3 separate regions of the Homo sapiens genome follow, and regions 2 and 3 are each linked to region 1. The links are contacts of gene promoters, found by promoter capture Hi-C in human tissues and cell types (Jung and others, 2019). All regions are on one chromosome and are shown on one strand. The core of a region is centred on a gene start or on the middle of the fragment in contact, and the rest is flanking DNA. Distances in the headings are between cores, read along the strand shown. Region 1 overlaps PPP1R37 (protein phosphatase 1 regulatory subunit 37). Region 2 holds the start of FOSB (FosB proto-oncogene, AP-1 transcription factor subunit). Region 3 holds the start of BCL3 (BCL3 transcription coactivator).

The links. The method cuts DNA at HindIII sites, captures the fragments that hold promoters and counts their contacts. A contact is called where the count stands out against the background at its distance.
Region 2: the fragment with the promoter of FOSB here is called in contact with a fragment that was not itself captured in region 1 in 2 of the 25 tissues and cell types used here (dorsolateral prefrontal cortex and lymphoblastoid cells).
Region 3: a contact is called between the fragment with the promoter of BCL3 here and a fragment that was not itself captured in region 1, in 1 of the 25 tissues and cell types used here (dorsolateral prefrontal cortex).

What each region holds. Positions count from the first base shown.
Region 1 is chr19:45,100,747-45,104,603 of GRCh38, forward strand. All of the region lies in intron 1 of PPP1R37 (protein phosphatase 1 regulatory subunit 37), which reads left to right. Among named protein-coding and RNA genes, the nearest start is that of PPP1R37, 9.5 kb to the left of the region's middle. The HindIII fragment of the contact is 9,683 bases long and covers 1-3,857 here.
Region 2 is chr19:45,466,401-45,470,257 of GRCh38, forward strand. FOSB (FosB proto-oncogene, AP-1 transcription factor subunit) reads left to right here and starts at 1,596. Exons shown (of 4, transcript NM_006732.3): 1 at 1,596-2,312. The coding sequence starts at 2,187. RefSeq lists a silencer at 1,233-1,512 and enhancers at 1,697-2,598, 3,644-3,693. The HindIII fragment of the contact is 8,650 bases long and covers 1-3,857 here.
Region 3 is chr19:44,746,701-44,750,557 of GRCh38, forward strand. It overlaps BCL3 (BCL3 transcription coactivator), which reads left to right and starts at 2,008. Exons shown (of 9, transcript NM_005178.5): 1 at 2,008-2,346. The coding sequence starts at 2,091. RefSeq lists silencers at 577-1,056, 1,117-1,246, 1,657-2,246. The HindIII fragment of the contact is 56,727 bases long and covers 1-3,857 here.

The sequences.
Region 1 (3,857 bases), core at 971-3,470:
GCAGGGAGGAGAAACAGAAACAGGTGGGGTAAGGGCCCAGCCTTGGTGGGCACGCAGGAGGGGGTCACTGTGGTTCGTGGACAGCTTGAGTCCCTGGAGATTTGTGCTGCTCCTCTGTCCTCAGCATTGCCTGCTGTTCTGACCCTTGGCCTCTGGGACGTGTTCTTCCTGTGCTACTCAGTGTCTGGTATGTGATAGGCGCTCAATATATTCTTGCTGCGTGAGTGACTTGGTGACCCCGTAACCAGTCATGCATTCAGCATGGTGTGGCCGTGCCACGTGTTACGAGTCAGGGCAGAAGACAGGCCCAGTCCATGCTTCTGTGGGGGTCACAGTCAAGTGAGGGAGACACACAGTAAAGAATTCTCAGCAAACCAGGCTTCTGAGGACTCAGATTAGGGAGGGTCCACAGGGTGTGCAGGAGGGCAGGGCAGAGGCAGCTTCCTAGAAAGGACGTCACCAAGGAAATCCAGCAGTAAGCCAGGTGAGGAGCAGTGGGAGGAGTGCACCAGGGGTGGAAGGCAGAGAGAACCAGCCTGGTATGTCTGAAGAACAGAAAAAAGCCAGACTTAGTTGAGGTAGAGGCAGGCTGGTCAGAGGTGAGGCTGGAGGAGGCAGGAGAGACTGCTGTGTGGGGCCTTATGGGCTGTGCTAGCAGGGAGCCCCAGAGGGCTTAAGAAGGGGCCTGGGCTGGGCATGGGGGGCTCACGCCTGTCATCCCAGCACTTCAGGAGCTCCAGGCGGGAAGATCACTTAAGCCCAGGAGTTTAAGACCAGCCTTGGCAACATGACGAGACCTTGTCTCTACAAAAAATACAAAAATCAGCCGGGCATGGTGGCATGTGCCTATAGTCCCAGCTACTCAGGAGGCTGAGGTGGAAGGATCACTTGAGTCCAGGAGGTCGAGGCTTTAGTGAGCTGTGATCACACCACTGCCCTCCAGCCTATGTGACAGAGTGAGACCCTGTCTCAAAAGAAAAAGGAGGGGCATGGTGGGTGTTTTTAACAGAATCCTGTGTGGAGGTGACATGAATAGGGTGAGACTGAGACAGGGAGGCCAGGGAGGGGCCGTGAGCCAGGAGCCCGGAGGCTGTAGGCTTGGCGTAGCCTCATATTGGCTGATAGCTGACACTTGACTTCATTGACTTCTTCATCAGATTCCTCTGAGTCCTCCCCTCCACCAGCAGGTTTGCCGATGCCACTGTTTCCCATAGCACCTCTGAGGTGACTGTTATTCCCCTTCCCTTCTCTCCTTGGATCTGAGTCCCTTCCCTCGTGCTCCCCCAGCCAGCGTGTCCTTGGCCTGCTTGGGACATCCTGCCCCTGCATGGGCTGTGGGAGGCGTGTGGGCTGTGAAGTCCGGTGACCTCTCCAGTGACTTCACCTCCACAGTCCCTTCAGGTCTCACAGTACCCAGATCCAGAAAACTCTACAGACCATCCCAAACCCCTCTGGTGGCTTAGCGCAATATCGGTGTCTGATCAGTCTTATAAAATCCAGAAAATTCTGATTCTAAAACACGTCTGGCCCAAGGGTTCCAGGAGGAGACTCTGGAGCCCGCAGCGGGCCTCGTTCCATGTTTGTGAAATGGCAGTAACCTGAGAGGCAGCACGGGAGCCCCCTGGGTGCCAGTCCCAGCTCTGCCCTTGGGCAAATCACCCAGCTTCTTTGCCTCAGTGTCCCCATTTGTATGGGGATTGAGGATTAAATTAGCCTCTACTTGGAAAGCAGCTGGAACAGTAGCTGGCTGTTGCAGGCGCTCATGAGGACATGGGAAAGTTGAGTGAGGTGGTCACTGCCTTGAACTTGACTGGTTCCTGCCTCCCCCGGCTGTAAGGGTTAGGCAGGTGGGGCTAGATGACCAGCGGGTAGGATCATCTGCCTGAGTGTGATTTCGGCTCCTCCACACTTGGGCTGTGTGGCCTTGGGCAAGTCCCTTGACCTCCCTGGACCACTTTCCCCATTTGTGAAGCCATTTTGCCAGATGAGGACTCTCTCAAAGTTTTTAGACTCTCTGGGAAGACCAGAGAGCCAGGCCTGGGGCCCACGCCAGCAGGAGCACACCCTGCATCAAGTGTGGAGCTGATGCCGCTCCTGTTACATAGCCGCCACAGCACCTCCAGGGCTGAGCCCACGTCAGGCTCCTGGGCTGGAGCCACACAGGAGGCTGGGGTCTGCTGTTTCAGCTAAGAGGAGGTGGGAGATGTGGAGGGGCTTCCCTAATTGCAAGAAGGTGGTTCAGAGGCTGGGTGCCAAAAGGAATTCGAGAGATCCGTCATGCTTGGCTATGTTTCGTACATTAAGTAGGAAGGTCCATGAAGGCAGGACCCATCTTTGTCTTGGCTCACCTGTGTCCCCAGCACCCTCCATGGTGCCTGGCCCTCCGCAGGGTCTCACACTGGATGAATTGGTGGTGGATGGAGGTACACAGTAGGCACTCAGAAGTTGTTCTCACCCCTTCCCTTCCTCTAGGCAGCTGGTACTGAGCGGTTGCCTCAAGGTGGGGGTGGAGGTTTGGAAGTGTCTGCTGACATCCGCACAGCTCATGTGACTTGCCCAGCGCCCATCTCACTTCGCAGCGGAAGCCTGGGTCGGGAGCCCTGCAGTCGGATGCTCCCCTCAGGGCTGGTTGGGTTCCAGCTGGGAATGTGTTCCCTGGTTAGGTGGGCGGGCTCCTCTAGCAAGCTGGCGCTTGGGACCCGCCGGGGTCGGACTCGTGTGCCACCTTCACACCCACCCCTCCCTCTCTCCACGGTCTCCGAGGCTCTCACCAGCTGCTGTCAGCGATGTAGTGGAGAACTGCTCGCGTCCTGTGCAGTCTTCCCTTTTGCAAAGCAAAGCACTGTCACAGCTGAACTCGCTTGGTTCCCCAGGACAACAGGGAGGGAGGGTGGGAGAGTGGGGCTGCCAAAAGGTGAAAGCGAGCCGCAGGGAAGTGACTCTCTGCAGGGGTCATGCCTCCTGGTGGTGGTGATGGAGGTGATGGTACTCAAAGCTCCCATTTATGGAGCGCTTAACAGGGCTAAGCTCTTTACATGCATCGTTAATCTTGGAGGAGGAAACAGGCTCACAGAGGTGCCAAGGCCACACAGGTAGTAGAGGAGGAGCTGAGTTATAGCCCGGCAGCTTGAATGGTTCTGATCCTCTGTCCTGTTTCAGAAAGCCCCCAGGGCTCCACTGTAACTACAGGACAAAGTCCACACCCGTGGGCCTGGTGTGGGAGGCCTTTCCCACAGAACGCCCAGCCTCCTAGACACAGGCGCCTCTGCCTAGCACGCCCCTCGCTAGTCCCCTGCCCTTCCTGACCAATTCCCGTTACCCCTCCCACGCCTAGACGCAGGCGCCTTTGCCCAGCACACCCCTCGATAGTCCCCTGCCCTTCCTGACCAACTCCCCCTCCCGTGCTGCCTTCTGGGCAAGGCCTTCTCTAATCCCCGGACAAAGCTCTGCTCCGCTCGTCTGGGTTCCCATGGCGCCTCCTCGCTCTGTTGTTATTTGTTCGGGCCCATCTCCCCTCCCTGGACCAGTGCTGCAGAGGGCTGCATCCTGTCCATCTGGCTCCTGGGAGGGGTGGAACCACTGAACGCCTCCAGGAACCTTAAGGACTCCGGGCAAAGTGGGGTTGCTTATGAGCACCCAGGCCGGGTGCCGCAAAGCCTTTGTAACCCAGGCACTGGGGCTCAGGACAGTCAGGGAGCATGGGGTGTGGGGAAGGAAGATTTCGTTCACTGAGTCCTTTTTTCCTGCATTCATTCCTTCATTCCTTGCCAACCAGCGCCTGTTTTGCCTCCACTTTGCTGTCCCTGCCATGCCAGGTGGAGGGGCCTCCCAATGGCTCTCCTGCTCCCTCTCCAACC
Region 2 (3,857 bases), core at 346-2,845, 370 kb after region 1:
AAAGCTTAGAAAGACCTGACAGGCCAGGCGCTGTGGCTCACGCCTGTAATCTCGACACTTCGGGAGGCCGAGGCAGGCGGATCACCAGGTCAGGAGTTCAAGACCATCCTGACCAATATGGTGAAACCCCGTCTGTACTAAACATATAAAAATTAGCTTGACGTGGTGGCCCGCGCCTGTAGTCCAGCAACTCGAGAGGCTAAGGTGAGGCGGAGGTTGCAGTGAGCCGAGATCGCCACTGCACTCCAGCCTGGCGGCAGAGCAAGACTCCGTCTCAAAAAAAAAAAAAAAAAAAAAAAAAAAAAGACCTGACAAGTGAAAGCTACTAATATTGCCATTATCATTTAAAAAAACCCCAGACACAGGTTTTTCAGGGAGTTTCATCCAACCAGGCAGGTCTCAGAAATCAGAAAAGAAATGGAAAGGGTAGGAAATCTGGAGTTTGACAATTCTGAGTTTGAATTTCTTGTGATGGGATCTTGGGCAAGTCATTTAACCTCCCTGAGTATCATTTTTTTCTTTTATAAAATGAAGATTTTTCTCTCTTAACCTTCCAGAGCTGTTTTAAGGATTACAAATCTTCTACTGAAAGGCGTAGCACAGGAGCTGTGCTTGGCAAGTGCCAAATACAAGGCATTAATTATTATTATTAGAATTAATAATAATATCCCCTCCCTCTTACACATTCTTTGTCTCCGGGTGGATTAAAAGGTGGAAGGAGAGGCTACCAACACCATCAGAAGAGAGGCTTCTCTCTAAGTTTCATTTCCCATCTCCTCCAAATCCGCATCCCTCCCAAACGCCGGACCTGTAAGGCCAGCAGGGTCCAAGACACACATCCTTTGCCCAGCGGGGAAGATTAAAGCTAAAGCTCAGAGAGGGAAAACATTTCCTAAGCTCGCACAGCGAATCAGGACAGAAACCAGGACGAGCCTCGGAATCCCTCCATTACCTCCACTTTCACCTGAGCATCACAGCCCGCTCGGGACTCAGTTTCCCCACCTACGTGACCACACCACACTAATCAGGGTCTCCTTTTGGAGATCTGCTCTTCTTCTCGAATGGGGGCGCTGCACCATCGGTAGAACAGGGTAGGTGGGGGCGCCAGAGGTGAAGGGGACCTGCAGGCTGGGGTCTTCCCCGCCCGGGTCAGCGGGGTCCCTGCGGGGCTAGTCTAAGCGCCTATTATTACCAGCCCCCGGGGCGGCGTTGCACTGCGCAGGCGCGGGCGGGGCGCGGGCGCGCGCGCGAGCGAGCGAGGGATTCCCTCTGACGTCATTGCTAGGATACCAAACAAACACTCCGCCGCGCCGGCCGAGCTCCTTATATGGCTAATTGCGTCACAGGAACTCCGGGAAGGCGGGGCCGGGATCCCCTCCCGCCGAGTGGCCCGGAACGCAACCCCCGAGACCCCCAGGGCCCCGAGGGTCATGCAAGTGACCAGATCGAGTCTAGAACAGACCTCTTGCTGGACAGTGCGGGACTCGATTTGGCGGGGCCGGAGATTTGGGGAAGTTTGTCCAGCAAGGGGCGGGTGACGTAAGCAGGGGGGCGGGTCCCGGGCATATAAATACAGGCTGGCGGGTCTGTGCTTCATTCATAAGACTCAGAGCTACGGCCACGGCAGGGACACGCGGAACCAAGACTTGGAAACTTGATTGTTGTGGTTCTTCTTGGGGGTTATGAAATTTCATTAATCTTTTTTTTTCCGGGGAGAAAGTTTTTGGAAAGATTCTTCCAGATATTTCTTCATTTTCTTTTGGAGGACCGACTTACTTTTTTTGGTCTTCTTTATTACTCCCCTCCCCCCGTGGGACCCGCCGGACGCGTGGAGGAGACCGTAGCTGAAGCTGATTCTGTACAGCGGGACAGCGCTTTCTGCCCCTGGGGGAGCAACCCCTCCCTCGCCCCTGGGTCCTACGGAGCCTGCACTTTCAAGAGGTACAGCGGCATCCTGTGGGGGCCTGGGCACCGCAGGAAGACTGCACAGAAACTTTGCCATTGTTGGAACGGGACGTTGCTCCTTCCCCGAGCTTCCCCGGACAGCGTACTTTGAGGACTCGCTCAGCTCACCGGGGACTCCCACGGCTCACCCCGGACTTGCACCTTACTTCCCCAACCCGGCCATAGCCTTGGCTTCCCGGCGACCTCAGCGTGGTCACAGGGGCCCCCCTGTGCCCAGGGAAATGTTTCAGGCTTTCCCCGGAGACTACGACTCCGGCTCCCGGTGCAGCTCCTCACCCTCTGCCGAGTCTCAATATCTGTCTTCGGTGGACTCCTTCGGCAGTCCACCCACCGCCGCCGCCTCCCAGGTAAGTTTTTGATAGTAGGGGTGCTGCTTTGTAGGTTTTATTTTTTAAGTCAAGGGTGAAAAGAATAAACCCCAACCCCCACAAAAAGGCGCATCAGAACCCTAGATCTGAGATGGAAAAGGCTCACAGCGCACTTTGCAAACTGCAAAGAGTCGGGAGATGTTTGCAATTGGTTGCGTGCGTGGAGCGCAAGGAGGGAACGCGGCAGGGAGGGTAGGCTTTGGGGCGAGGTGGGGGTGGGGTGGGTAATGCGCTGCTCAATGCAACGTGTATGCGGTAGCGGGGCTGAGAACTTTGAGCCGGCCCCGGGACTGCCCCCTGCTCGGGTCCCAGACCTGAAGCTAGCGCAGTTAGGCAGGTGGGGGAAATCCCGGGGAAGCTTCCAGCAGTCTCTTTTCCTTTCCTCCTCCTTCGGAGCGCCCACTTCGGTGCCGGGTCGCCCTCCACCCATCGGGAAGAGGGGCCTCGAACCCTCAGCCGCGCTGCCTCCGCCTCCTGCGCGGAGACGTAACGGGGGACCCGTGCGTAACGGCTGACGCGCTGGAATCCTCCGTCTGACGCGGGGCACGCACGGCGCGCGGCGCCCCCTTCGTCCGCCCCGCCCCTGACGTCCCGGGAGCGTTCTATTTTGGAACGCCGGGGCCACGTTGCTAAGGGAGGGGGCAGCCCGGCGTTTCGATTGGCCGCCGGGGCGCACGCCTTGGCCAATCAGCTTTCCCTTCCTATTTGTAGGGTGCATTTTCCTTCCCCCCTCTCTGTCCCCGGAACCCGTGGTTCCTTGGCGGCTGGGTCTCTTTTCGGCGCCTCTAGAGGCAGAGGGAGGGGATCCCTGTCGTGACAAGAGCGCCTGTCTGCGACCCAATGGATCTGCGAGGCCCTTGCGGGGATCTAGTCCCTGGGCTCTCAGGAGAAGGGGGTGTCTGCTTGTGTGCTGGCGTTTCTTGGAGAGATACGGTGGCTGTCACCCTCTTCTCCAGGCACACACAGACACATTCCCACTCCCTCTGCTCCTCATGCCCGGTTCCTCCGGTGTGTCCCAAGACAGGACTAGAACCGCGAACCGAAGGGCAACCAGCCAGGTGGTCTCCAGGAGCTCCGCCCCCTCTGGGTTCCCAGGACTCTGATTGGTCGGCGAGCCAGCCCTTCCCTCACCACGCCCCCCGAGAGAGTAGTTAAGCCTTCAGAGCAGTTCCAGGAGTCCATTTACGGGAGGGGGGAGATGAGCGCTGCTGAGGCTTGGGGGCTCAGGTCCCGCACCATTCCCCCTCCGCGACAATCTGAGAGAGCTCCAGTGGTTACTTTTATCTACCTGTCCGTTCACCCTAAACTGTCACTCGTCAGTCTCACTCTGAGAAGAGACAGTAACTTGAAACGTTGTTCTAAACTCCTAGGCCCGTCCCCCAAACACCCTTTTGACTGGGACCCCCGCCCCTGCATGGGACCTCGCGCAGAGGGGGGTGTGTATGTGTGTGAGTGTAGAGGAAGGCTTGGCCTAAGGCCTCTCCTTCTCCCTCCCCTTGCCTCTGGGGTGGGGGTGGGGTGTTG
Region 3 (3,857 bases), core at 758-3,257, 350 kb before region 1:
AGCTGCCCTGGGATGCCAGGAGTGGGACAGGCTTGGGTGTCCTTCCCACCCTACCTCTGAGGGTCCCCACCCTAAGCCTCGCCCCTCCAAACCTCAGCTTTCCTTTCTGTGCATTGGGATAGTGCTCCACACCCCTCTCCTGTGTCTGAGGGTCCCCAGGGGTGGGGTTGGATGGGCAGGGAACACAGCCCCCAGCCTGTCCAACCGAATTCCTCCCCTCTTCCCTTGCTGTGGCCCCCACAACACCAGCAGGCAGGGGTTGCCATTGGTCCCATTTTCCAGAAGAACAAACTGAGTCTCAAGGCAGGGGATGGCTTGTCTGAGGTCCCACCGGGAGCAAGGGGTGGAGGTGGAATTAACACAGGTCTGTGCTCGGGATGTTTCGCCATGAAGGGGGATAAGGGAGATCCAGAGAGAGGTCGAAAGGAAGGGAAGGGGTGAGGCCTCTCCACACAGCCACTTCTCACATCCTGGGTTAACGATCCACTCGGGTGGGGCCCGAGTCCGGCCAAAGTCCCTTCCCGGGGCCCCAATACCCACTTTCAAGGTCCCAGGGGACACAGAGACAGCAACAGAGATGGGGAGACAGAGACAGAGGGCGGGGCAGGAGACAACCAGAGGGAGGTCAGGCAAGTTTCGAAGACAGAAGGAGACCGGGGGAGAGAACCAGAGAGACGCCGCGTGCCCCCTGGGCAAGTCCGGGGTGCAGCCCCCATGCCCCGCCCCCTGTGTCCCCAAAGCCTCCCTCTCCGCCTCCTGTGACTCAGTGACCCGGACTCAACCCCAGCGGCTGCCCCGCCCCCAGGGAAATCCGGGAAAGCCCCGGACCTTCGGGGCCCCACCCCGGGGCGGGGAGAGGGAGAGGAGGGGAGGAGACGGGGAAGAGTCCCGCCTCCCTCCTCCCTCCCTCCCATCTCCAGCCTGAGTCATGCCCCCAACCCGCCTAGCCTGTTCCCCACCCATCAACCCCTCCTCGAGGTGGGAGGGGAAGTCGGGGGGAAGCCAAACTGCTCCCCGCTCCTGCAGCACCGGCCTCGGTCGCGCTGACTCTGGCCTGGTGTCCGTGTCTCTTGCTATCTCTCTTTCTCTCAAGATCTCTGCGCCTGTCTCCATGTCTCTTTCTCTCTGTGCACCTAGGATTTTCCGAGCACCCACCCCGGTGCCCCGCGGGCCCCGGCTGGGGGCAGGGCCCCCAACGAGTGCAGAGACACAATCAGTGGAGCGCTCCCCACCCTCACCCCACCCCCAGCCCCTTTAGACCCACAGCTGATGAGGCACGTGGAGTGGCAGAGATGGAAGAGGGGAGGGAGAGGAATCGTTCCTGGCCGCCTGCCGAGTGCCAGTCCCTGCCCCGGGTGCGTCTCTTCACTCCCACTAAGGAGGAAACGGCTCAGAGAGGGGAAGTGTTTGGCCAAGGTCACCCAGCGAGTAAGTGGGAACCGAGATTCCAAACCCCGTCCCAGAGATGCCAAGGCCTCCTGAGAGACAGAGAAGCAGACAGCAACTGAGAGGCAGAGAGATGGTGACAGACACAAAGAGACAAAAGAGAGAGACAGAGACGGAACAGAGCACACAGAGACAAACGCGGGGTTGCGGAGAGAAACACCTACTCAGACAGGAGAACCAGAGAGACAGTTACAGACTCAGAGATAGAGATGTTGAGAGATAGGGCCAGAAAGACAAAAACAGAGGCAGAGAGAGCGGCCCTTGGCAGCAGGGGTGGGGACACCCCCCCACCCCCCGACCCCGCCTCCTCTCCCCCCACCCCTCCTTTCCTCTCCCTCCCCCGCCGAGGCCTGGCTGCCCCAGGCGCCGCGGGCCGGGAGGGGGCAAGCGGGGCGCGGCGCGGGCGGGGCGCAGGGCAGGCTGCACCTCAGAGCGGCGGGAGCAGCGGCGGGTCCAGGAAACCCCTGGGGCGTACGGGTGGCCCCGGGGGGGCCGGGGGCGGGGAGGCGGGCGGCCGGCACCGCCCCGGCCGACAAAAGTCCCTTCAGTTCAGCCGGCTGCAGGGGAAGTCCCGGCGCCCGGCGAAACCACCCTCCCGTGCAGCCGAGCCCAGCCGCTCTCCGGCCGCCGTCCCCGGCGGCCCCATGCCCCGATGCCCCGCGGGGGCCATGGACGAGGGGCCCGTGGACCTGCGCACCCGGCCCAAGGCCGCCGGACTCCCGGGCGCCGCGCTGCCGCTCCGCAAGCGCCCGCTGCGCGCGCCCTCCCCGGAGCCCGCCGCTCCCCGCGGCGCTGCGGGCCTTGTCGTCCCCCTGGACCCTCTGCGCGGCGGCTGCGACCTGCCGGCGGTCCCCGGGCCCCCCCACGGCCTGGCCCGGCCGGAGGCGCTTTACTACCCCGGTGAGTGGCCCCCGAGGGTCCGGGCCGGGTGGGATCCACACAGAGCATAGGGTCACCAGAGCCAGGAGGCAGAGCTTGAGGCACAAACCGGTGTCTCTCCAGGGACCTGGGGGACAAGAGGATATAAGCCCAGGTTCCAAGGATATAGATATGAGATCATCGGGGAGCCAGTAAGCTGTGCCTTGGGATCTGGGGATTTGGGGACCCTGGGGGGCAAAGCCCAGGGGCTGAGTGACGTGGGGGGGGGGGGGCCAGGGACAATGCCCAGTGGTACAAATATGGGGGTGTCAGGGAATCAGGGCACAGAGCCTGGTATCCTAGGGGCAAGAAAGTACAAGCTCTTAAGCCAGATGTGTAGCGTTATGAGGAAGCTGAGCTGGGCTGGAGAAACTGGGGTTCCCTGTATCCTGATATTATTAGAATCAAAGGGAGTCAGGGTAACAGAGACTGGGGTTCTAAGGAGACAGATACTGAGGATCTCAGGATGTCACAATCTCAGGAACCAAGATATCTGGAGACATGGGCATTATGAAAACAGAGATGGGGTTCTGAGCACCCCAATATCTGGGATCACAAGGATCCAAGGAAATGAACCAGAGCTCCAGGGACCCAGATACCAGGGGGTCTTGAGGACCCAGGAGAACAGAGACCCGGGTTTCTGGGTACTCAGTTATGTGGGGCCACAAGTGATCAGGGTCCTATTTGAGGTCAAGATCAGGTGGGCAGAAGGGATCAGGGGACTGAGGATCCTAAGATTGGGTAATTCTGAGACTTTGGGTAATTTAGAGGCAGGATGAAAATTTCAGGGGTCTCCAGACAGAAAGCCTCAAGGCCTCAAGGCCTGGTATTGGAGATACGAGGACCTGGAAACTTGGGAGTTCAAGAACAGAGGGCCCACAAGGATCAGCAGATGACGAAGACCACACACTCTTCTCTCCATCCTATCTCCATCCCTGATCTCAAGAAGGGGTGTCCTCTACCACAGCTGTGGCCACGTCACCATCCCCAATTGACCCCCAAAGCTGCAGAGAGCCGTTCTACAGAGCCCCAAAACTTTAGGTAGTTTCTGCACCCTCCACCCCATCAGCGTGACAGCTGGAGAGCCTCAAGCTATGTGCATCAGGAGTTCTGCCACGGCCTCCCAGCTTTCCTATTCCAAGAGTGAGAAAGCAGGCCTCAGTTTTCCCCGTCTGTGTGATGGGTTGGTATGGATTTGCCTGCTGCCATGGTCCCCTCGCCTTTGTTTGTTTTTGTTTTTGTTTTTTGAGACAGAGTTTTGTTTTGCTCTGTCGCCCAGGCTGGAGTGCATTGGCGTGATCTCGGCTCACTGCAACCTCCGCCTCCCAAGTTCAGGGGATTCTTGTGCCTCAGCCTCCCGAGTAGCTGGGATTACAGGCATGCACCACCACACCTGGCTAATTTTTGTATTTTTAGTAGAGACAGGGTTTCACCATGTTGCCCAGACTGGTATTGAACTCCTGACCTCAGGTGATCCGCCCGCCTCGGCCTCC